Linked DNA regions of Homo sapiens: regions 1, 3, 4, 5, 6 and 7 are each linked to region 2. The links are contacts of gene promoters, found by promoter capture Hi-C in blood cells and fetal thymus (Javierre and others, 2016). All regions are on one chromosome and are shown on one strand. The core of a region is centred on a gene start or on the middle of the fragment in contact, and the rest is flanking DNA. Distances in the headings are between cores, read along the strand shown. Region 1 overlaps DAGLB (diacylglycerol lipase beta). Region 2 holds the start of ANKRD61 (ankyrin repeat domain 61). Region 3 overlaps RAC1 (Rac family small GTPase 1). Region 4 overlaps KDELR2 (KDEL endoplasmic reticulum protein retention receptor 2). Region 5 overlaps FAM220A (family with sequence similarity 220 member A). Region 6 overlaps DAGLB (diacylglycerol lipase beta). Region 7 has its middle 10 kb from the start of RAC1.

Evidence for each region. The method cuts DNA at HindIII sites, captures the fragments that hold promoters and counts their contacts. A CHiCAGO score of 5 or more calls a contact.
Region 1: a fragment that was not itself captured here is called in contact with the fragment with the promoter of ANKRD61 in region 2 in 1 of 17 cell types (monocytes); the score reaches 7.2 in monocytes.
Region 3: a fragment that was not itself captured here is called in contact with the fragment with the promoter of ANKRD61 in region 2 in 7 of 17 cell types (erythroblasts, naive B cells, total B cells and 4 more); the score reaches 8.0 in erythroblasts.
Region 4: a contact is called between a fragment that was not itself captured here and the fragment with the promoter of ANKRD61 in region 2, in 4 of 17 cell types (total B cells, M0 macrophages, M1 macrophages and 1 more). The highest score is 6.9, in total B cells.
Region 5: a contact is called between a fragment that was not itself captured here and the fragment with the promoter of ANKRD61 in region 2, in 15 of 17 cell types (naive CD8 T cells, total CD8 T cells, naive B cells and 12 more). The highest score is 11.0, in naive CD8 T cells.
Region 6: a contact is called between a fragment that was not itself captured here and the fragment with the promoter of ANKRD61 in region 2, in 1 of 17 cell types (naive B cells). The highest score is 5.2, in naive B cells.
Region 7: a contact is called between a fragment that was not itself captured here and the fragment with the promoter of ANKRD61 in region 2, in 4 of 17 cell types (endothelial precursors, erythroblasts, total CD4 T cells and 1 more). The highest score is 7.9, in endothelial precursors.

What each region holds. Positions count from the first base shown.
Region 1 is chr7:6,441,956-6,445,267 of GRCh38, reverse strand. The region is part of intron 2 of DAGLB (diacylglycerol lipase beta); the gene reads left to right. Among named protein-coding and RNA genes, the nearest start is that of DAGLB, 4.3 kb to the left of the region's middle. The HindIII fragment of the contact is 2,747 bases long and covers 1-2,662 here.
Region 2 is chr7:6,029,847-6,033,108 of GRCh38, reverse strand. It overlaps ANKRD61 (ankyrin repeat domain 61), which reads right to left and starts at 1,733. Exons shown (of 3, transcript NM_001271700.2): 1 at 1,518-1,733; 2 at 173-270. The coding sequence starts at 1,733. All of the region lies in intron 11 of EIF2AK1 (eukaryotic translation initiation factor 2 alpha kinase 1), which reads left to right. The HindIII fragment of the contact is 4,913 bases long and covers 525-3,262 here.
Region 3 is chr7:6,403,935-6,407,501 of GRCh38, reverse strand. It overlaps RAC1 (Rac family small GTPase 1), which reads right to left. Exons shown (of 6, transcript NM_006908.5): 6 at 3,535-3,567. Among named protein-coding and RNA genes, the nearest start is that of RAC1, 31 kb to the right of the region's middle. The HindIII fragment of the contact is 4,507 bases long and covers 1-3,567 here.
Region 4 is chr7:6,465,433-6,468,933 of GRCh38, reverse strand. KDELR2 (KDEL endoplasmic reticulum protein retention receptor 2) reads left to right here. Exons shown (of 5, transcript NM_006854.4): 4 at 2,611-2,863. Among named protein-coding and RNA genes, the nearest start is that of KDELR2, 17 kb to the left of the region's middle. The HindIII fragment of the contact is 274 bases long and covers 1,761-2,034 here.
Region 5 is chr7:6,340,227-6,343,712 of GRCh38, reverse strand. All of the region lies in intron 1 of FAM220A (family with sequence similarity 220 member A), which reads left to right. All of the region lies in intron 1 of SMIM10L3 (small integral membrane protein 10 like 3), which reads left to right. Among named protein-coding and RNA genes, the nearest start is that of FAM220A, 7.0 kb to the left of the region's middle. The HindIII fragment of the contact is 477 bases long and covers 1,070-1,546 here.
Region 6 is chr7:6,423,801-6,426,992 of GRCh38, reverse strand. It overlaps DAGLB (diacylglycerol lipase beta), which reads left to right. Exons shown (of 15, transcript NM_139179.4): 7 at 879-1,005; 8 at 2,158-2,241. Among named protein-coding and RNA genes, the nearest start is that of DAGLB, 23 kb to the left of the region's middle. RefSeq lists an enhancer at 1,974-2,473. The HindIII fragment of the contact is 3,115 bases long and covers 1-2,815 here.
Region 7 is chr7:6,362,592-6,365,916 of GRCh38, reverse strand. It overlaps the pseudogene RPSAP73. Among named protein-coding and RNA genes, the nearest start is that of RAC1, 10 kb to the left of the region's middle. The HindIII fragment of the contact is 8,332 bases long and covers 1-3,325 here.

The DNA of each region.
Region 1 (3,312 bases), core at 40-2,539, 410 kb before region 2:
GACCACATTTTATTTATCCCTTTGCCATTTGGTAGGCATTTGGATTGTTTCCATTTTTCACCTATTACGAATAGTGCAGCTATGAACATTCGCATACAAGTGTTTATACAGACATGTTTTCATTTCTCTTGAGTGTGTACCTAGGAGTGAATTGCTGGATCATGTGTTAATGCTCTGTGAAACCTTTTGAGGAACTGCCAGACTTTTCCAAGCAGCTGTACCATTTTACATTCCCACCAGCAGTGTATAAGGGTTCTAATTGCCCAACGCTCTTATTATATGACTTGTTAATTATAGCCATCCTAGTGAATGTGAAGTGGTAGCTCATGATTTTGTTTTGTTGTGTTTTGTTTTGTTTTTTTGAGACGGAGTCACACTCTGTCACCCAGGCTGGAGTGCCATGGCGCAATCTCGGCTCACTGTAACCTCTGCCTCCCGGGTTCAAGTGATTCTCCTGCCTCAGCCTCCCGAATAGCTGGGGCCACAGGCCATTTGTTTTTTGTCTCATGGCTTTGAGGAACATTTCTTTGGTGACTAATGATGTTGAGCATCCTTTCATTTGCTTATTGCTCATTTGTGTATCATTTTTGCGGAAATGTCTGTTCAGATCTTTTGCCCAATTTTAGACTAGGCTATTGATCCTTTTATTTTTTATTTTTATTTTTTGAGATAGAGTCTCCCTCCGCTGCGCAGGCTGGAGTGCAGTGGCGTGCTCTCTGCTCACTGCAGCCTCCGTCTCCTGGGTTCAAGTGATTCTTGTGCCTCAGCCTCCCATGTAGCTGGGATTACAGGCACCCGCTACCACGCCTGGCTAATTTTTGTATTTTTAGTAGAGATGCGGTTTTACCATGTTGGTCAGGCTTGTCTCGATCTCCTGACCTCACGTGATCCACCCGCTTCGACCTCCCAAAGTGCTAGGATTACAAGTGTGAGTCACCGCGCCTGGTCCCTTTTATTTTTACATTGTGAGGGTTACAACTATTTTGTTGTTGTTAGAGACAGTGTCTTGCTCTGTTGCCCAGGCTAGAGGGCAGTGGCGCAATCATAGCTCACTGCAGCCTCAAATACCTGGGCTCAAGCAATCCTCTCTTCTCAACCCCCAAGTAGCTGGAAGTACAGGCACGTGCCACCATACCTGGCTAATTTTTTTTATTTTTATTTTTTGTAGAGACAGGGTCTTGCTATATAGCTTAGACTGATCTTGAACTCCTGGGCTCAGGTGATCCTCTCGTCTCGGTCTCCCAAAATGCTAGGATTACAGGGGTGAACCACCGCGTCTGATCACCTATTCTTCATATTTTTTATATGTGTTACAGTTTTCTGTAGATAACCATTTATCTGAGAATGTCTCCAGAAGTGTTGGAAACCTTCCCTGTTGGATTCCTCTGCTTCATAGGATGATGTGAGCACTGTGGTGACTAATAAAGGAATGCATTCTTAGAAATGATTCATTGGTCAGAGGCAGGGCTGTGTGACATGCCACCATCCGCCATGTTTTAGTCCTTTGTCACTGCTTGAATTGGGATGGACGAGGTATGCATATCAGATATATGCTGGTGGTGAGGTGCACTGGGAGGCGCTGGTGATACAGTGAGTGACGGCATCAAGATCTTGACAGTTTGGAATAAAGGACTGAAATGTAAAAGGTGTTAGCTCATAGGAGCAATGTAGAGGGTAGAAATGTTAGCAGCAACATCTTTCATGAGAAAAAGACCTTAGGGTTTGGGATGACCAGCAAGAGTGGCATGTGCCTGATTACCACAGTAACATAGAAAACAGAGCTCTGTGTATTTTATTTTACTTTTTTCTTTTGAGACAGAGTTTTGCCCTTGTTGCCCAGGGCTGGACTGCAATGGCGTAATCTCAGCTCACTGCAACCAACCTCTGCCTCCCAGATTCAAACAATTCTGCCTCAGCCTCCCAACTAGCTGAGATTACAGGCACGTGCCACCACACCCAGCTAATTTTTTTGTATTTTTAGTAGAGACAGTTTCTTTTTTTTTTTTTTTTTTTTTTTTAGTAGAGACAAAGTTTTTTGTTTGTTTTGTTTTGTTTTTTTTGTTTTTTGTTTTTTTTTTCCGGATGGAGTCTCGCTCTTTCACCCAGGCTGGACTGCAGTGGCACTATCTCTATCTCGGCTCACTGTAAGCTCCGCCTCCCGGGTTCACGCCATTCTCCTGCCTCAGCCTCCCAAGTAGCTGGGACTACAGGCGCCCGCCACCGTGCCTGGCTATTTTTTTTTTTTTTTTTGTATTTTTAGAAGAGACGGGGTTTCACTGTGTTAGCCAGGATGGTCTCCATCTCTTGACCTCGTGATCCGCCCGCCTCAGCCTCCCAAAGTGCTGGGATTATAGGCGTGAGCCACTGCACCTGGTCTAGTAGAGACAAAGTTGAACCATGTTGGCCAGGCTGGTCTCGAACTCCTGACCTTAGCTGATCCACCCACCTCATCCTCCCAAAGTGCTGGTATTACAGGTGTGAGCCACTGCACCCAGCTAGCTCTGTGTATTTTAGTATGCCTCTAGAAACATCCACGCAAGGAGGCTGGATTGATGGAGGCTCCACGTTTGTGTTGGCCCCCAAATGTAGGCTGTCATTGGTGCCAGATGCTTAAGGAAAGAAAGAAACCATGTGTACAGTGTGGCTTCAGCGCTGGGAAGCTTCTTATTGAAGGTGAAGTATTGAGACTGGTGTCATTTCAGATACAGCATTATCTAACTTATTTGCCCTTTTTTGTTCATCTCACATTCTGGTTAGACCACTGAGTTTGTGGCTGTAATAGCAGGGTCAGAGTGGAAGCAGTCGGTGTACTTTTTTTTTTCCTTACATGTTTGTTTGTGTTGAGATATTTTTGGTGTTGGGACGTCTTTACCTCCCTGTGAGGGATGCTCATATTCACTCCGTTCCCTCTTCCTAGACACTCGTACAATGCTTGCATCATCATGTACTTGTGGTCAGAGCTCAGAAGTCATCTGTGGGTTGTCGGAGTGTTCTGGGTTGTCTATCCCACAGCCTCCTCCAAACAGAACCCCGTTTTGTTTTGCCCCCATCCCACACATACCAAGTATGCGTCAGAGAAGCAGACCCTAGGCCGGGCTCACGTATTGGTGATTGGTTCAGGAATGGACACGTGACCCAGTTTGGCCCAGTGAGAGTCAGGGAGAGTTTGGTGGAAGGTTCTGGGGAAGTGCTTCCTTGCCCCTCTAGGAAGGATCCAAAAGCCATTTATCGTCGCTCTCCTGGCTGAAGCTGTGTCTCCACTCACAGCGCAGGGCAAGCTGACATACAGGGCAGGGGAGAGCTGGGAGAAGC
Region 2 (3,262 bases), core at 484-2,983:
TAATCCCAGCTACTCGGGAGGCTGAGGTGGGAGAAGCTCTTGAACCCAGGAAGTAGAGGTTGCAGTGAGGCGAGATTGTGCCATTGCACTCCAGCCTGGGCAACAGAGCGAGACCCCTGCCTCAAAACAAAAAAGAAAAAAAAAGAAATGATTTTCGGTGGAGTTAACTTACCTGACTTCTGGGTCAGCACCGTGCCGTAACAGGCAGAGCAGACTCTGGGCCTTGTGGTACTTGGCAGCCAGATGGATGGGGATGATAGACTCTGTCGGCTTTGGAGGGAAAACAAAACACATTACAAGTGGCCCTGTGTAGTTAAAAATACTGTTTGTGTTAGCTTGCCGTTTCAAAGGCAATACATTTATTTAGTGTCTCATTGGCTCACTCTTTTTCTGGTATGTGCATTGAAAGTTTCCTTTCTACTACCTGTTTTAAATGATCAAAATTCAGTGAATTCCATCCTATAAAATCTGTGTTTCACAGAAATGCACATTTACTGAGGCAACAGAAATAACACTCAAAAGCTTTGGAAATTTTTGAAAGTTGATTCTTCAGAAGAGCCTGTGGTGTGATATTAAGGGTACTTGCTATGAAGTCACTTATTCCTTAAATTAACCCACAGGGTGATGGACAAGTAGGTGCTGTGTCGTTGCCAAAGTCGTATTATCAGCAGTAAAACCTGAATCTTCAGGGTTTTCAAATATAACGCAGCATATGTTCTGTCTATGATTAGCAGAGCTGTTTGTGCCAGCTCTTAAAATACACACGTGTAAGTAGTGGTTTCACACCGTGGCTGCAAGATAAGACAGTAGGGTACAAGGGAGGGTGACTTCCTTTTTGAATTTAATTGTAAAAGTAATAATCATTGTATAAAAATTTAGAAAATGAAAATGTATATATTAAAAAGGGAAAAACTATTTTTTGTTTGTTTGTTTGAGATGGAGTCTTGCTCTGTCATCCAGGCTAGAGAGTGCAGTGGTACGATCTTGGCTCACTGCAACCTCTGCCTCCTGGGTTCAAGCAATTCTCCTGCCTCAGCCGTCCGAGTAGCTGAGATTACAGGCTCCTGCCACCAAGCCCGGCTAATTTTTGTATTTTTAGTAGAGACGGGGTTTTGCCCTGCTGGCCAGGCTGGTCTCGAACTCCTGACCTCAGGTGATCCACCCACCTCAGCCTTCCAAAGTGCTGGGATTACAGGCATGAGCTACTGCGTCTGGCCAAAAAAGGGAAAAACTAATTTGACCACATGGAGATCATCACTGTGGGTATGTTTGAGAGATGACATGAATGGTCTTCCAGTCACACAGGGTCTGGTGTTTTCTCATGTTGGTTTGTGTGTGACATGTGTAGGGGAGGCTTTGCAGGCTTTGGGGAGCACTGCAGTGTGTGTGGAGTGAGCTGGAGTCGTGTCTCATTCTCATAAGGGCCGTGAGCTTAGTGGGTTCACCAGCTTTAGATCATGCTTCTTTCTAAGCAGCCTGACTTTTTTCCAGAAGTGACTGAGCAGAAAAGAGGGTACCTGGGTCAGAAGTAATCTGTTGCTGGCGGAGTTGGGCAGAATGGTGATGGGCTGGTTGACAGGGTGATTTCTCAGGAGTACCTCGATCGTAGTGCAGTCTTCTCTCATGATGGCTTCATAGAGTTTCGAGTGAAGTGCTGCAGATGGGCCATCTTCCAGGGACTTGGCACTGTCAACCACCAGGTCTCTGCTTCCTTTCCTGGTTATATTCCCCATGAGAAAAACTTAAGACTTCAGGGGAAAATGTTGTTATGGAATTGGTCAGTTTCAGTCTCTTTGTGATGATTCTTTCAGTTCAGTTCTAGAACTGTTCTAGAATTTGTCGAGAATTGGATCTGTGAAGGCAATCCATCAGTTTGGAACCAAGCGTCCAGACTTTGTTCCTTGATCATAGAATGTCAAATGTCAGCAGTTTTTAGGGTTTTCTACTCTATCATAAAAACATATTCAAGCTATCATCTTACACCTTTATTTCTGATTTCTCTCCAGTTCAAGTGTAGCTGAAACAATGATCAAAGCTAAAACAGAGGAATTTATACATTAAAATACAAAGTTAAAATTATTACTTTTAAAGTAAGAAAACTTTTAACCTTAAGTTATTTTTTAGTTTTTATTATAATAGAATCTTCCCTCTCCCCATTATGGGTTCAGTTTTTCTCCGGCATAGGAATAGTTTGGGAGATGTTTTGGGTCTGTACTCTTTGCTTAAATAAAGCCATTTAGTGTGATCTATTAGTTCCCAACCCTGGCTAATACATATGAGTTATCTGGGAGCTTTTAAAAAATATCAAAGTTGGCTGGGTGCGGTCGCTCATGCCTGTAATCCCAGCACTTTGAGAGGCCAGGGCGGGCAGAACATGAGGTCAAGAGATCAAGACCATACTGGCCAACATGGTGAAACCCTGTCGCTACTAAAAATACAAAAAGTAGCTGGCTGTGGTGGCGTGCGCCTGTAGTCCCAGCTACTCAGGAGGTTGAGGCAGGAGAATTGTTTGAACCTGAGAGGTGGAGGTTACAGTGAGCCGAGATGGCACCACTGCACTCCAGCCTGGCGACACAGCAAGACTCTGTCTTAAAGAAAAAAATCAGTTTTTTCGTAGTGCGAGAAACATGCTCACCCGTCCAAACCCAAAGAGTGAACTTAGAGGCACAAAGAACAGTGAAAGTGAGACTTTTAATAGCCCTCTTGCAAGGTCACGTGTCTGGTAGGCAGGTACACCCAGGGCAGTTACAACAGGTGATTTATCTCCTAGCATGCAAGACCCTACCTCAGTTCCTCACTGGTCAAGGACTACAGGGTTACGATCTTCCCGGACGTCGCCTAAGTTGCATTATCCCCTTAGAAGGTTATACCCTGGTCCCTTTCCCGCTTAAGTTTGGATTTCCCAGTAATGAAACTTTCTTCCCTTTTATGGGCTGACTCCTCTACATCCTGTTCACTTATTGTGATCTTCCAGGTGGATGAGCCATGTGGTTTGTTACATTTGCAGGCTGGCTGCCGGTGCTTAGATTTATCATGCCTTGAAAAAGCCATTTAAAATGTTTTCTCACACATAGAAAATCACGTCTCTGGACTCGACAGGACAGTCGTTTCTTTTCTTTTCTTTTTTTTGAGACAGAGTCTCACTCTGTTTCCCAGGCTGGAGTGCAGTGATGCGATCTCGTCTCACTGCAACCTCTGCCTCCCAGGTTCAAGCAATTCTGCCTCAGCCTCCCGAGTAGCTGGGATTACAGGCATGCACCAC
Region 3 (3,567 bases), core at 691-3,190, 370 kb before region 2:
AACAAACCAGGAAAAGAAAAAGGTTACGAGGACACTCCAGGTCTGACATCTGAGTTTGAAAGTCACGAGTTTCCAAGACGGAAAGAGGCCATCAAGCGCACAGCACGGTGGATAAAAGAAACCCTAGGATGTGGAAGAGAAAAGGACAATCTCACAAGAAAAAAATACATCCCAACAGAAATGGCTAAGAAAAATCATGGAAGAACTGCCCTCAGAATTCTGAAGGGACTAGGTGCAGTGGCTCAGGCCTGTAATCATTCCATTTTGGGAGGCCAAAGTGGGAGGATTGCTTGAGCTCAAGACAAGTGTGGGCAACACAGCAAGACCCCATCTCTTAAAAAAAAAAAAAAAAAATTTTTGAGATGGGCGTCTCACTATTGCCACCCAGGCTGGAGCACAGTGGCACGATCTTGGCTCACTGCAACCTCGTCTCCCAGGTTCAAGCAATTCTCCTGCCTCAGGCTCCTAAGTAGCTGGGATTACAGGCGTGCACCACCACGCCTGGCTGATTCTTGTATTTTTAGTAGAGACGGTCTCACCATGTTGGCCAGGCTGCTCTCGAACCCCTGACCTCAAATGATCTGTCCACCTTGGCCTCCCAAAGTGCTGGGATTACAGGCATGAGCCACTGCGCCTGGCCAAAAATAAATTTTTTTAACCGAAGGGAGGCTGGGTGCAGTGGGCCAAGCCTGTAGTCCCAGCTACTTGAGAGCCTGCAGTGGGAGGATCACTTGAGCCCAGGAGTTTGAGTCTAAGCCTGGTCAACATAGCAAGAGCCTGTCTCAAAAGAAGAAATCTGCAGCCTAAGCAACATAGTCAGATCCCATCTCTACAAAACAAAATTAGCTGGGCATGGTGGTGCACACCTGTAGTCCCTATTACTCAGGATGCTGAGCAGGACTGCTTGAGCCCAGGTTGTTGAGGCCACAGTAAGCTGAGATCATGCTACTGCACTCCAGCATGGGTAACAAAGTGAGACCCTGTCCCAAAAATATAACTTAAAAGGGATGTTCACACCAACCTAGAATTTTAGGCCCAGCCAGAAGTAATGTACAACAGTTGTTTTCAAAGATGCAGGGGCTCAAAAATAAGAGTGATGCCTTACTTAACGATGGGTATACATTCTGAGAAACACGCGGGTGATTTCATTGTTAATGTCAGCCTACTACACACCTGGGTCAAAGGTAGGGCCTGTTCATTGCTCCCAGGCTACTCACCTGCACAGCCTGTTACTATACTGAATGCAACAGGAGTTCTAACAGTGGTATTTGCGTATCTGTACACAGAAAAGGTACAGTAAAAATAAGGTGCAGTCACACACTATCATACATGCAATACACTGTTGACTAAAATGTCATTACATAGTGCATGACTACGTACTTCCAACTCTCTCAAGGGATTTCTTGGAGAAACCATTCAGGATGAAGTAAATCAAAAAAGGGAATGTGGATGCAGGAAATGAAGACCAGCACCTAAGAGAGGTGCAGATCAGATGACTCCAGGAAAATGGGTATTGGCAAAATAACAACACATCTGAATATCTTGAGAGGTTTAGACAATAGATGAAAGTTCACAGCTGAGGCCGCGCACAGTGGCTTATACCTGTAATCCCAGCACTTTGGGAGGCTGAGGTGGAATGGTGGCTTCAGGCCAGGAGTTCAAGACCAGCCTAGGCAACACAGGGAGACCCCCCCCCCCCAACTCTACTAAACATTTTAAAAATTAGCCGGGCATGGTTGCACACACCTGTGGTCCCAGCTACTCAGGAGGCTAGGGCAGGAGGATCACTTGAGCCTAGGAGCTGTGATGGCACCACTGCACTCCAACCTGGGTGACAGAGCAAGACCCTTCCTTAAAAAAAAAAAAAAAAAAAGTTCACAATTGAATTCAGTACATAGGAAAGTAAGCAAAGTACTAATTATCCCAAAGAAAACCAGAAGTTCTGCAGGAAACACAGTTTTGTTGCTACATGGCAAGGCCAGTGAGTAGTTTATGTAGTAGTGATCATGCCGGCACTAAACTGAGTCCACCAAAACCATCAGATTGAGGGGATGAGAAAGGTTTTGGGTGGAGAGGGCTACAAGCGGGAAAGCAAGCCTCTCATCGTCCATGCTGGGAATGTCGATGAGAATGGCTGAACTCAGAAGTTACACTGGAACAAAAAGCCTAATTTAGACACAGCAGGTAAAATACCAAAAATCAGGTAAGCAAACAAAGTATTCCTTCTGGAGAGGCTACGAAGGGGGAAGTGTTTTTCTTTAGAAACCACTAAAACTTTTACTTTTAAAAACTGCATATTGACAGGTATGGTGGCTCACACCTGGAGTCCCAGCACTTTGGGAGGTCGAGGCTGGTGGCTCACACCTGGAGTCCCAGCACTTTGGGAGGTCGAGGCTGGTGGATTGCTTGAGCTCAGGAGTTCAAGACCAGCCTGGCCAACATGGCAAAACCCTACAAAAAATACACACAAAATTAGCTGGGTGTGGTGGTGCGCACCTGTGGTCCCAGCTACTCCAGAGGCTGAAGTGGGAGGATGGCTTGAGTGCAGGAGGCATAGGTTGCAGCGAGCCAAGATCACGCCACTGCACTCCAGCCTGTGAGACAGAGCCAGATCTTATCTCAAAAAACAAAATCTGCATTATTTATATCTGTTTAAAAAAAAAATACTCAGCTGGAGGCGGTGGCTCACGCTTTTAATCCCAGCACTCTGGGAGGCCGAGCAGATCACCTAAGGTTGGGAGTTCAAGACCAGCCTGGCCATGGTGAAACTATGGTGAAAAAATACAAAAAATTAGCCAGGCGTGGGGGGAGGCACCTGTAATCCCAGCTACTCGGGAGTCTGAGGCAGGAGAATCGCTTGAACCCGAGAGGCAGAGATTGCAGTGAGCCGAGATCACACCATTGCACTCCCAGCCTGGGCAACAAGAGCAAAACTCCATCTTAAAAAAAAAACAAAAACTCAAAAACAATCTTCAAAGCAATAAAAAGGAATATTAAGAAAACGAATTCTAACATGAACCTTTATGTAGTACAAGTTCAGGCTCTTGCATTTTTTTTTTGGGTAGGTCTCTTTCTTGTCCAGGCTGGTCTAGAACTCCTGGGCTTAAGCGCTCCTCCTGTGTCAGCCTCCCAAAGCGTCGGGCTTAGAGGCGTAAGCCACGCACTCAGCCTCTGGAAAGGATCTTAAGGGCATGTGGTTCACCAACCTCTACTCTTCCAGGGCCAGTCTAGGGTCCCAACATCTCCATCTTCAGCCCCTAGCTCTGGGCCAGGATGTGCACACACACCCCGATAGGCGCTTCTCCCTCAGAGCTTCGCCACTGTTCGACAGGTCCAAACATGAATGTCACCTCCACTCCTGCCGTATTTGGGCTCACCCAGTTCTCCCCTGGAGGTGGCACTCCCTGTCCCTCCTGTGTGGAGACACGCATTGAAAATGACTGTCTCCAACAACCCAGGACTTTAAAGCAAGGCAAACAAACACACACCAGGAACTTGTTCATCAAGTCTCAAAAACACCAGTATTACCAGTCGTATGATTCAAGGATTTATTAAGTCATACATGCA
Region 4 (3,501 bases), core at 648-3,147, 440 kb before region 2:
GGTGGCTCACCACACCTGTAATCACAGCATTTTGGGAGGCCGAGGTGGGCAGATCACTTGAGGTCAGAGGTTCAGGCATTCAGCCTGGCCAACATGGTGAAACCCTGTCTCTATTAGAAATACAAAAACTGGCCATGCGCAGTGGCTCACGCCTGTAATCCCAGCACTTTGGGAGGCTGAGGCAGGTGGGACACGAAGTCAAGGGATTGAGACCATCCAGCTAACACGGTGAAACCCCGTCTCTACTAAAAATACAAAAAACTAGCTGGGCGTGGTGGCGGGCGCCTGTAGTCCCAGTTACTTGGGAGGCTGAGGCAGGAGAATGGCGTGAACCTGGGAGGCGGAGCTTGCAGTGAGCCAAGATCGCGCTACTGCACTCCAGCCTTGGCGACAGAGCGAGACGCTGTCTCAAAAAAAAAGAAGAAAGAAAATCAAAAATTAGCTGGGTGTGGTATCGCACGCCTGTAATCCCAGCTACTCAGGAGGCTGAGGCAGGAGAACCACTTAAACCTGGAGGCGGAAGTTGCAGTGAGCCGAGATCGAGCCACTGCACTCCAGCCTTAGCGACAGAGCAAGACTCCATCTAAAGAAAAAAAGTTAATTTCATGGTCATGTCTGGTTATCTAGAATGGACCTATTTGCATGTTTGCAGATCGTGTAGGTTTTCATGGAGTTTTTTGTTTTTATTTTCTGGTTTGGCAAACTCTAGTGCAATGTTCATGACTGGTGTAAAAAAATCGTAGATGAGAATTAAGCACCCACATATTTAGGTGTCTGCTGACAGTTTACTGTCTGATTCATTTGAAATAGAAACTTGAAACTGTATTTCATTATCTTGACTTCAGTGGTACCAAACACAGAGCCCTGCCTGTCCCAGTGTGGGAAGAACAAGGTCTCCCTCCTGTAGCCCACATTTTGTTTGCTTTTCATGTACAGATGTGCACTGATGTCGTGTCTGTGACCCTGCTTAGCAGCACTCTGCACCTCTTGCCTTTAGGAAAGCTGGTTTGTGGTGCCCCTAGTACTGTGCAGTGAGCTGATCTGCTCCTGAGTGCCTCTTCTTTCCCTGCTGAACAGGCAAACGGTGCTGCTTCACATCCTGGGGCCGATCAAGTCACTGTGCTACCCTGGGTGTCTGATGGGTGCTGGGAGTGCCTGGACTTTTCTTTTTTTTTGAGACAGAGTCTCGCTGTCACCCAGGCTGGAGTGCAGTGGCATGATCTCGGCTCACTGCAACCTCCGCCTCCTGGGTTCAAGCGATTCTCCTGCCTCAGCCTCCCGAGTAGGTGGGATTACAGGCACCCACCATCATGCCTGGCTAATTTTTGTATTTTTAGTAGAGACCGGGTTTCACCATGTTTTCCAGGCTGGTCTTGAATTCCTGATCTCAGGTGATCTGCCTGTCTCGGCTTCCCAAAGTGCTGGGATTACAGGCATGAGCCACCACACCCAGCCATGCCTGGACTTTTAAAATACTCAAGGACCCTCTGAAAGTCCTTCTATCATCATCGTGAATAAAGTCATACGCTGGGCAGAGAATTTCCATAATTACAGTTGTGACTTCTACCCCTTTGATTTAACCACACCAGAAAGCTTAAGGAATAAGAAAAATAGTGAAAATATTTCAGTAGTTTGGCAAGATCAGTCAGTGAGGAAAAACAGCAGTGAGGAAGTGGAAGGAGCTTATCAATTATCAGTATTGTCAATCCTGGCGGAAAGCAGGGTTGATTTGGTATCCCAGATCTGGAGCAGGACAAGCTTGTCCAGGAGAAACCTCTGTATGTAGATTCATAGAAAATTGAAGAGGGAAGAATAAACCTGGAGAGACAAGGTGATGAAAATTCAAAGAGGTAGAGGTGTCCAGGTTACCCAGCTTGTCACACTGGCAGTGCCTTGCCTCTTAAAGGTTGCTTAAGTTTCTGTGATTTATGCCAGGAGTCCTCAACCCCTGGGCCACTGACTGGTACTGGTTCATAGCCTGTTAGGAACCAGGCCACCCAGGAGGAGATGAGCCGTGGGTGAGCAAGTGAAGCTTCATTGTATTTATAGCTGCTCCCCATCACTCACATTACTGCCCAAGCTCCACCTCCTGTCAGATAACTGGCAGCATTCAATTCTCATAGGAGCATGAGCCCTATTGTGAACTGTGCATCTGAGGGATCTAGGTTGCATGCTCCTTATGAAAATCTAATGCCTGATGATCTGTCACTGTCTCCCATCACCCCCAGATAGGACCATCTAGTTGCAGGAAAACAAGCTCAGGGCTCCTACTGATTCTGCATTATGACGAGTTGTATAATTATTTCATTGTATATTATAGTAATAACAGAAGTAAAGTGCACAATGATTGCAATGTGCTTGAATCATCCCGAAACCATCCATCCACCCTGCTGGTCTGTGGAAAAATTGTCTTCTATGAAACCGATCACTGGTGTCAAAAAGGCTGGGACCACTGGGTTATGCAGTTGCCAAGCTGTTGTTCTATTTTGGGCCGACATGCCCCACTCCCCACTCATCTTAGGCTGCTTTGTGGTAAAGAAAGCAAGAGTGTTTCCTCTGAGCTCCTGGTGGGCAGTGGGTCGTGATGGAAGCTTGCCATTTCTCTTCCAGATCCTCTGGACCTTCTCCATCTACCTGGAGTCCGTGGCTATCCTTCCGCAGCTATTTATGATCAGCAAGACTGGGGAGGCCGAGACCATCACCACCCACTACCTGTTCTTCCTGGGCCTCTATCGTGCTTTGTATCTTGTCAACTGGATCTGGCGCTTCTACTTTGAGGGCTTCTTTGACCTCATTGCTGTGGTGGCCGGCGTAGTCCAGACCATCCTATACTGTGACTTCTTCTACTTGTACATTACAAAAGGTATGTTGGGTGCGACCTGCGTTGTTTCTAGAGTGACGTGTTCTTTTAGGAGTGCCCTTGCCCAGCACTCTTCTAATCTGGCACTCTCTCATAAACTGGCTCCAGAGAAACACTTTCATGATTGGCCAATAACATTCTGGATCAGGATGTTGTCTTTTTAAATATAAGAACCCTTTTTCTTTTGCAATAGCTTTTCCTAAAGTGACACATTTTCACTGTAAAAGATTCATCTGGTGTTTCAGTGAACATTAACACCAGATACCTCTCTATGCATACACAGACACATGACTTAAACTGTACATTGCTGTTCTATACACTGCTTTTATCCCCTCACATTTTTCATGTCACTAGAAATCTACATAATTTTCAGTAGCCACAGAGTGTTTCATTATGTGCATGTACCATAATTTATTTACCCAGCCCCCATTCATGGGTGGTCAGGCCGTTACTGGTTTGCTGTTAAAATCCAGTCATTAAATCAGCATCCTTGTGTATATGTGTTTTTGCATTTGTATGAACATAGGACGTGTGAACTTTACAAATATTTGATGAAAGCTATCATCCTTGTTCAGAAAAAAAAAAACATTTATGCCAGGTGCAGTGGCTCACGCCTGTAATCGAGCACTTTGGGAGGCCGA
Region 5 (3,486 bases), core at 59-2,558, 310 kb before region 2:
ATGCAGACAGTTGTATACTGAGAATGGTTATGATTTTAAAATACTATTTGCAAGCAAGCCTTAATCTCCTGGAGTTCTTAGCATCCTTCTTATTTATACAGAATCTGAAATACAAGGCAGTTAAATGGAATCAATACCAAATACTAAATTTAGTAAAAGCAAGATTAAAAATGGTACTGTGAATCTGCTATAATTTAACAAGTCATGCCTACAACTTTTCAGTTATATGGCCTGTGGGAAGAACGAAGTGTTTCTTAGTCCTAGATCATATATATATATATATATATATATATATATATATATATATATATATATGAAATTATTATTATTTTTTTGAGACGGAGTTTCACTCTTGTGGCTCAGGCTGGAGTGCAGTGGTGTGATTTTGGATCACTGCAACCTCCGCTTCCCAGGTTCAAGCGATTCTCCTGCCTCAGCCTCCTGAGTAGCTGGGATTACAGGTGCCTGGTACCACGCCCAGCTAATTATTGTATTTTTAGTAGAGACGGGGCTTCACCATGTTGGCCAGGCTGGTCTTGAACTCCTGACCTCAGGGGATCCACCCTCCTCGGCCTCCCAAGGTGCTGGGATTACAGGTGTAAGCCACTGCACCTGGCCAATTTTTTCTTTTCTTTTCTCTTCCTCTTTCTTTCTTTCTTTTTTCTTTTTTTTTTTTGAGAAAGCGTCTTCCTCTGTCATCCAGGCTGGAGTGCAGTGGTGCGATCATAGCTCACTACAGCCTCCAGCTCCTGGACTCAAGCCATCCTCCCACTTCAGCCTTCTGAGTAGCTGGGGCTACAGGCATGTGCCACCATGCCTGGTTGATTTTTTCATTTTGTTTCTAGATGGGGTCTCACTATGTTGCCCAGGGTGGTCTCGAACTCCTGGCCTCAACTAATCCTCCTGCCTCAGCCTCCCAAAGTGCTGAGATTACAAGTGTGAGCCATCATACCTGGCCCTGCTTAGTCTTTTGTTTTTGTCTTTTATGTCTTTCTATGTTGGACTTTTGGGTTGCTTTCACTTTTTGGCTATTGTGAATAATGTTACTACGAACATTTGCATGTAAGCTTTGTGTGGACATCGGTTTTTATTTCTCTTGGGTGTATACTTAGAGCAGAATTGCTGGATCATATGTAACTCCTCTAACCATTTCAAAAAGATCACTTTTTTTTTTGAGACAGAGTCTCGCTTTGTCACCCAGGCTGCAGTGCAATGGTGTGATCTTGGCTCACTGCAACTTCTGACTTCTGGGTTCAAGTGATTCTCCTGCCTCCCGAGTAGCTGGGATTACAGGTGCCTACCACCATGCCCAGCTAATGTTTGTATTTTTAGTAGAGTCGGGGTTTTGCCATGTTAGCTGGGCTGGTCTCCAGCTCCTGGGCTCAAGAGATCCACCTGCCTCGGCCTCCCAGAGTGCTGGGATTACAGGTGTGAGCCACCGCACCCAGCCTAGACACTGTTTCTATAAGACAGAAAGAGAGAGAGAGAAAGAGAAAGTAAGAAACAAAGAAAAAGAAAGAAAAAAGAAAGGAAAGAAAATGAAGCTTTAAGAAGAGACTGTCTGCTTGGTATACCAACCTAATACCAGCACCTAGAACAGCACCTGGCACCTGGCGTAGGGTAGGTTCTTAATGAGTGATTGCTCATTGAATGTGTGGCAGAAAATCTTTAGAATCTTGAATCAAAGGTTTTCAGCACTTGCAATTTTTTTTTTGAGATGGAGTCTTGTTCTTGTCGCCCAGGCTGGAGTGCAATGGTATGATCTTGGCTCACTGCAGCCTCCACTTCTCGGGTTCAAGTGATTCTCCTGCCTCAGCCTCCCAAGCAGCTGGGATTACAGGTGCCCACCACCATGCCTGGGTAATGTTTGTATTTTTAGTAGAGACAGAGTTTCACCGTGATGGCCAGGCTGGTCTTGAACCCCTGACCTCAGGTGATCTACCCACCTTGGCCTCCCAAAGTGCTGGGATTACAGGGGTGAGCCACTGCACCTGGCGCGCACTCATAATTTTTTTTTTTTTTTTTGACAGAGTCTTGCTCTGTGGCCCAGGCTAGAGTGCGGTGGCGCGATCTCAGCTCACTGCAAGCTCCACCTCCTGGGTTCACGCCATTCCCCTGCCTCAGCCTCCCGAGTAGCTGGGACTACAGGCTCCCACCACTACACCTGGCTAATTTAAAAAAAATTTTTTTTTAGTAGAGGCAGGGTTTCACCACGTTAGCCAGGATGACAGTGCTCATAATAATAATAATAATTATTATTATTATTTTTTTGAGACAGAGTCTTGCTCTGTCACCCAGGCTGGAGTACAGTGGCGCGATCTCCGCTCACTGCAAGCTCCGCCTCCCGGTTCACACCATTCTCCTGCCTCAGCCTCCCGAGTAGCTGGGACTACAGGCGCCCGCCACCAGGCCCAGCCAATTTTTTGTATTTTCGTAGAGATGGGGTTTCACCGTGTTAGCCAGGATGGTCTCAATCTCCTGACCTCCTGATCTACCCTCCTTGGCCTCCCAAAGTGCTGGGATTTCAGGGGTGAGCCACTGTGCCTGGCCAGCACTCATTTTTTTTTTTGGGACAGAGTCTTGCTGTGTCGCCCAGGCTGGAGTGCAGTGGCACGATCTCAGCTCACTGCAAGCTGCACCTCCTGGGTTCATGCCATTCCCCTGCCTCAGCCTCCCGAGTAGCTGGGACTGTAGGTTCCCACCACCACACCTGGCTAATTTTTTGAATTTTTTTTTTTTTTTTTTTTAGTAGAGACAGGGTTTCACCATGTTAGGCAGGATGACAGCTTTCATAATTTTTTTTTTTTTTTTTTTGAGATGGAGTCTCACTCTGTCGCCCAGGCTGGAGTGCAGTGGCGCCATCTCGGCTCACTGCCAGCTCCGCCTCCCGGGTTCACGCCATTCTCCTGCCTCAGCCTCCCGAGTAGCTGGGACTATAGGTGCCCACCACCACGCCCGGCTAATTTTTTGTATTTTTAGTAGAGACAGGGTTTTACCGTGTTAGCCAGGATGGTCTCGATCTCCTGACCTCGTGATCCGCCCGCCTCGGCCTCCCAAAGTGCTGGGAATAATCCCACCATGCCCAGCCAGCACTCATAATTTTTTAAGTCATTGTCAACCTGCCCTCCTTCGAGTCTGTTATCCTGAATTCCCTCCCTGGCAATGTTGGGGAAGCTGTGGGTGGTCTGTATTTGCCCTTCAGCCAACTCCAGGTGCAGCACGGCCTCCGTGCTTCAGCCGACTCCAGGTATGGCACGGCCTCTGCCCTTCTACTGAAGTGTACTTACCCATGTTGGGGCTGTGTCTGTACACACATGCAGTGGTCGCTTCTCCGTCCTCCACCGCACCAACCCTCTCAGCAGCGTTTTGTCCTTCCCTGAAACACTTTTGGTCATGATGATGATAGTAGCTGCTGTTGATTCTGATCGACAGCAGCTGGGATGCCCTTAGGATGCTAGTCAGAGAAGAGTAGTCAGAGAAGATTCT
Region 6 (3,192 bases), core at 9-2,508, 390 kb before region 2:
GGGATTACAGGCGCCTGCCACCACACCTGGCTGAGTTTTGTATTTTTAGTAGAGGTGGGGTTCCAGCACGTTGGCCAGACTGGTCTCGAACTCCTGACTTCAGGTGATCCACCTGCCTCGATCTCCCAGAGTGCCGGATTACAGGCATCAGCCACCACGCCCGGCCTCTTTTTGTTTTTTAAACGTAGAGCACAGTACTCAAAAGTTACTTCTATGATTTCTTGTTTATTTTCTACGGAGTTGGCTGTGCTGTTCATTTGGACAGGTTTGCTTTACCTGCTTCTGTTGGCATTCAGTTTTAGGGACTTGCCCATCCTTGTTGATGAATTTTTTGAATATAGAAATCATTAACATGATGCCAGAAGTCAGAACTCTATCCAAGAAGTGTACACAGAGAGGTATTATCTTTAATAAGCCATTCCGGGCCCAGTGCAGTGGCTCACGCTTATAATCCCAGCACTTTGGGAGGCCAAGACGGGCAGTTCGCCTGAGGTCAGGAGTTTAAAACCATCCTGGCCAACATGGCGAAACTCTATCTGTACTGAAAATACAAAAACTAGCCGGGCATGGAGGTGCACGCATGTAATCCCAGCTACTCAGGAGGCTGAGGCAGGGGAATCGCCTGAACCTGGGAGGCGGAGGTTGCGGTGACCTGAGATTGTACCACGGTACTCCAGCCTGGGTGACAGAGTGAGGCTCCATCTCAATCAGTCAGTCGATCAAATTAAGTTTTAAAAAGCCATTCCATGTCAGCCAGGCTAAGTCCTGAGAATTGTCCGCTCTGGTCCTCGCGTCTCTGGGAACATGTGGCAGTGAGGATGGACGTTCCTTGCCAAGTGGCTCTGTTCGGCATAGTAACGTCTTTGTCCTCTTTTTAGCTGCAGAAGCAGAACCACAGACTATGACTTGGTCGGAGGCGATCAGCTCAACTGTCACTTCGGCTCCATCCTGCACACCACAGGGCTGCAGTACAGGGACTTCATCCACGTCAGCTTCCATGACAAGGTGTGGACGCTGCAGACAGCGGCTCTTCACTTCTTTTGGGTCCTGGAGCTGTTAGAGATTCTGATGGAAGTTATGAATTATTCTTCCCGTAATTCATAGACACACAAACACACTTCTAAGTCCTGTGTACTATTTCAGAGGGGCCACAGACTCTGGGGGAGCCACACAGATGCCCTGGTGCAGGTTCAGAACCCAGGTTTCACATAAGATAGAGACGTCTTCATCAGAGATAGCGCGCTGTGTTTCTTACCTCGCCCTTCTGTTGAGGAGTGAAATCCCTCAGTATTAATGCCGCATGGCCTTCTGGGATTCGTATCGTCGTCCTGGGTTGTGAGTGCCATCAGTAGTGTAGTGTAGCAGGTCTGGCACTCTGGGGGGGTCACTGTCACCTTGGGAGAAGCTGCAAAAGCCAGCTGTGGGCCGGGCACAGTGGCTCACGCCTGTAATCCCAGCACTTTGAGAGGCCGAGGCGGGTGGATCATAAGGTCAGGAGTTCGAGACCAGCCTGGCCAATATGGTGAAACCCCATCTCTACTAAAAATACAAAAATTAGCTGGGCGTGGTGGCAGGCGCCTGTAGTCTCTGCTGGTCGGGAGGCTGAGGCATGAGAATCACTTGAATCCGGGAGGCGGAGGTTACAGTGAGTTGAGATTGCGCCATTGCACTCCAGCCTAGGTGACAGAGCAAGATGCCATCTCAAAAAAAAAAGCCAGCTGTGCATGGCTGCAGTGCTGCGTGTTCAGTGTCGCTCGCTGTCTCTCCAGGTGATTCTCATAGGCACCGCAGCGGGAGGCCTGCTGGCGCAGATCGGCGGCTCTCCCACTTTGCTGCCCAGTAGAACCTCTTGAGGAGCTTTTAACACTGCTGAGGTCCAGGCCGCACCCTGGGCCAGTTCAATCCGAATCTCTGGGGAGGTCAGAGAGAGGCTAAGAAAACAAAGATCCTTTTTCATGTAGAGCAGCATGGTTTATGAAGGCCAGTCCCTGCCAGAGTGGGTCCCACTGTGTAGTGAGCGTGAGTGGAGAGGCGGTGTCCCCTCCTCTCTGTGCCGCAGGACTTGGGCTGTCATTGCAGACACTGCAGGGCTCCGACTTTGCGTGCTGGTGCGTGTGTTCACTGTTTAGGCCCCATGCTTGTTTCTTGCTCCTGCAGGTTTACGAGCTGCCGTTTTTAGTGGCTCTGGATCACAGGAAAGAGTCTGTTGTGGTCGCTGTGAGGGGGACCATGTCTCTGCAGGTAACGTTGGAACCTGACTTTCCAGCCCTGGGAGTGGGTGCGGGAGCGGGAGCCCACAGCTGCTCGGCTGGGGAAATCCGTCAGTAACCGCATGAGACACAGGGGAAAATGGTGAGGACAGAAAATGAGGATGTGAGCCTGGGGTTGGGAAATACTCCCTTTGCAAAAAGGGATGAAGCTGTTTCATCTTCACTGAGAACTGTCAGCAGCAGAGCGGCCAGCAGGTTGGCCCCCCCGCCACAGGAGCTCCCAGAGGGCACCTGCTTGACCCCTCCCTGCCTAACTTCCCTGAGCCCAGCCAGGCCCCACACCCGGGAGCCCTCCCGGGGAATTTCTGCACCAGAGCCAGATGGCGGCAGTGAGTCAGTCTTGCTGCAGAGAGTCACGCCCCTGGCCACCAGCCCCGCTGGAGGCTCCCGGTTTGGATCCTCACAGGCCCTCGTGGCCTGCCGTTCTCCAGGTGAGGTCAGGACTGCCGACATCCATCCCCAGCCCATGGCCCCTCTTCTGTCTTCCTCAGTCCATACTCCTGGGCCCCTTGGAGATGCCAGGTGACGCTTTCCTTGTCAAAGCTTTCTTCTCTCCATTCCGGTTTCCTCCTGGCCACTCCTCAGTCTCACTTCCCGTTCTTCTCTGCTGACCCAGAAAATGAGTTGAGACTCCAGAGCCTGTGTGCTCAGCCCTCTTCTGCTCCTGACTGGCTCTGGGGTAGCCCCCCTAAGTCCAGGGCCAGGACCCCAAACTTGCATCTTCAGGAGCCATCTGTGGGTCTCCCGGGAGGCACCAGAGAAGCCACACTTCCCACAGGGCTGCTCCTCCCGGGGGGCGCCCTGTTCACGTCAGCTCTGCCATCGTCCCCCCATTGCCCATTTAAGAAGCAGTGGCGCCTGTAATCCCAGCACTTTGGGAGGCCAAGGTGGGTGGATCACAAGGTCAAGAGATCGACACCAT
Region 7 (3,325 bases), core at 704-3,203, 330 kb before region 2:
TTCTGCAATAAACATTTTATTACACTTGGTTTACCATGTATCTGTTTATCCATTCAACAATTCACATTGTTTTTAAATTCAATTCAAAAGAAGTTACAGAAATCAGTGCATGTTACCCTTCAACACTTCAGAATGCACTTTTTTTTTTTTAGAAACTGATGTTTATTTTCCATCAACCTATTTCCACGTTGCTTAAGAGCCCGTGCAAGAACACCTTAAGGCCATTCAGTTGTTGCTGTTACCCATTCAGCAGCCTGAGCAGTGGGAGCTGCAGACCAGTCTTCCGTGGCAGGATGACTGCTCCAGTCTTCAGCAGGGAACTGCTGGATAGGCACAGAGGGCACCTGCATGCCGTAAGACCAGTCTGCAACCTCAGGTTGAGTAGCGGTGAATACAGGAGCTGGAGCTGTCCATTCACCCTGAAATTCCTCTTTGGTCACAGCCTTTTCAGCAGCAGACAGGTTTTTAATTTTATTTTTATTTATCTATTTATTTTTCTGAGATGGAGTCTCGCTCTGTCGCCCAGGCTGGAGTGCAGTGGCGCGATCTCAGCTCACTGCAACCTCCACCTCCTGGGTTCAAGAGATCCTCCTGTCTTAGCCTCCTGTGTAACTGGGACTACAGGCACGCACCACCATGCCTGGCTAATTTTATTTTGTATTTTTAATAGAGACGGGGTTTCACCATGTTAGCCAGGCTGGTCTCGAACTCCTGACCTTGTGATCCACCCACCTGCGCCTCCAAAAGTGCTGAGAGGGCCGGGCAGGGTGGCTCACTCCTGTAATCCCAGCACTTCAGGAGGCCGAGGCGGTTGGGTCACGAGGTCAGGAGATCGAGACCATCCTGGCTAACATGGTGAAACCCCCATCTCTACTAAAAATACAAAAAATTAGCCAGGCGTGGTGGCGGGCGCCTGTAGTCCCAGCTACTCGGGAGGCTGAGGCAGGAGAATGGCGTGAACCCAGGAGGCGGAGCTTGCAGTGAGCCGAGATCGCAACACTGCACTCCAGCCTGGGTGACAGAGAGAGACTCCAAAAAAAAAAAAAAAAAAAGACAGATGATAAATTATATTAACACACTATGAGAATTAGCCAGGGGTGGTGGTGTGCACTTGTAGTCCCAGCTATTTGGGACTCCATCGCTTGAGCCCGGGAGTTTGACTGCAGTGATCCAAGATCTTGCCACTGCATTCCAGCCTGGGTGATAGAGTGAGACCTTGTCTCTAAATAAAGTGCTGGGATTACAGGTGTGAGCCACCATGCCCGGCCAATTAACATTCAATATTTGTTGATAGTTCCTTCTCTTCTTTTATTTATTTATTTAGAGACAAGGTCTCTATCACTCAGGCTGCAATGCAGTGGCAAGATCTTGGATCACTGCAGTCAACCTCCTGGGCTCAAGCGATGGAGTCCCTAATAGCTGGGACTACAAGTGCACACCACCACCCCTGGCTAATTCTCATAGTGTGTTAATATAATTTATCATCCTTCTTTTTACCTTCTTTTTTTTGTTTTTAGAGTCTCACTCTGTCACCCAGGCTGGAGTGCAGTGGAACCATCATAGCTCACTGTAGCCTCAACCTCCTGGGCTCAACAGATCCTCCTGCCTCAGCCTCCTGTGTAGCCGGGAACACAGGCATGTGCCACCACACCCAGCTAACTTTTTTGTAGAGACAGGATCTTGCTATGTTGCCCAGGCTGGTCTTGAACTCCTGGACTCAAGCGATCCTCCGGCCTTAGCCTTCCAAAAAGTACTGGGATTACAGGTGTGAGCCACTGTGCCCACCCTAATTTGCCATCTTAATGAAAAGAATAAAAACTCCAAGGAAGGTTCTGGATCCCTTCAAATACAAGTGTCTGATGGCCCAAAGAAAATGACTGTTTTCTCTTAATTATGTAAACCTTGCTGACATTTTGCACTGGAAGCATGGTATAGTGGAAGGCACACTGGGATAGAAGCCCAGGAACTGCCGACTACTGCTGCCAACCTGGCCCCAGGTTAATCACCAATGGGCTCTGTGACATCGTTAAGTCATTAAGCCTTTTTTCCTCATTGCTCATCTGTACAATGAGGAGAATGAACTTTGTGTTCTCCATTCTACAAGTCCGCAAGTCCACTAAGTGCTGTAAAGATGTGGAGGAACAAGATAGTACTTTTTTTTTTTTTTTTTGAGACGGAGTCTCACTCTGTCGCCAGGCTGCAGTGCAGTGGTGCAATCTTGGCTCACTACAACCTCTGCCCCTGGGGTTCAAGCGATTCTCCTGCCTCAGCCTCCCAAGTAGCTGGGATCACAGGCATTACACCTGGCTAATTTTTGTATTTTTAGTAGAGATAGTGTTTCACCATGTTGGCCAGGATGGTCTTGATCTCTTGACCTCATGATCTGCCTGCCTTGGCCTCCCAAAGTGCTGGGATTACAGGTGTGAGCCACTGTGCCCGGCCTGATTTTTTTAAAAATTAAAGTCATTTAATTTAAATGACTTTAAATAAATAATTTACTTTAAATGATTGTTTAACAATGTGCACATTGTTAAAACATCAGCTAGTACAGAAGAGCTCATACTTTAGACCTCAAAAAAAAAAAACAACTTTATTTTTTGTTTTGTTTTGTTTTTGAGATGGAGTTTCGCTCTTGTTGCCCAGGCTGGAGTGCAATGGCGCAGTCTTGGCTCACTGCAACTTCTGCCTCCTGGGTTCAAGTGATTCTCCTGCCTCAGCCTTCCAGATAGCCGAGATTACAGGCATTCTGACCTTAAGTGATCCGCCCACCTCAGCCTCCCAAAGTGCTGTGATTACAGGTGTGAGCCATTACGCCCGGCTTTTTTTTTTTTTTTTTGAGACAGAGTTTCACTCTTGTCACCCAGGCTAGAGTGCAATGACCCGATCTTGGCTCACTGCAGCCTCTGCCTCCCAAGTTCAAGCGATTCTTGTGTCTCAGCCTCCTGAGTAGCTGGGGTTACAGGCACCCATCACCATGTCTGGCTAATTTTTGTATTTTTAGTAGAGACAGGGTTTCACCATGTTGCCCAGGCTGGTCTTAAACTCCTGACCTCAACTGATCTGCCAGTCTCTGCCTCCCAAAGTGCTGGGATTACAGGCGTGAGCCCGTCACCCAGCGAGTTATTTGTTTTTTTTTTTTAATTAAAGTCATTTAGTTTAAATGACTTTATTTACTTTAAATACTTGTTTAACGTAGTGTACATTTTTAAAACCTCAGCTAGCACAGAAGAACTCATACTAAAGACCTTAAAAAAAACTTCGGGTTTTTTGTTTTTTGTTTTTTGTTTTTTTTTTGAGACAGGGTCTTCCTCCGTAACCCACGCTG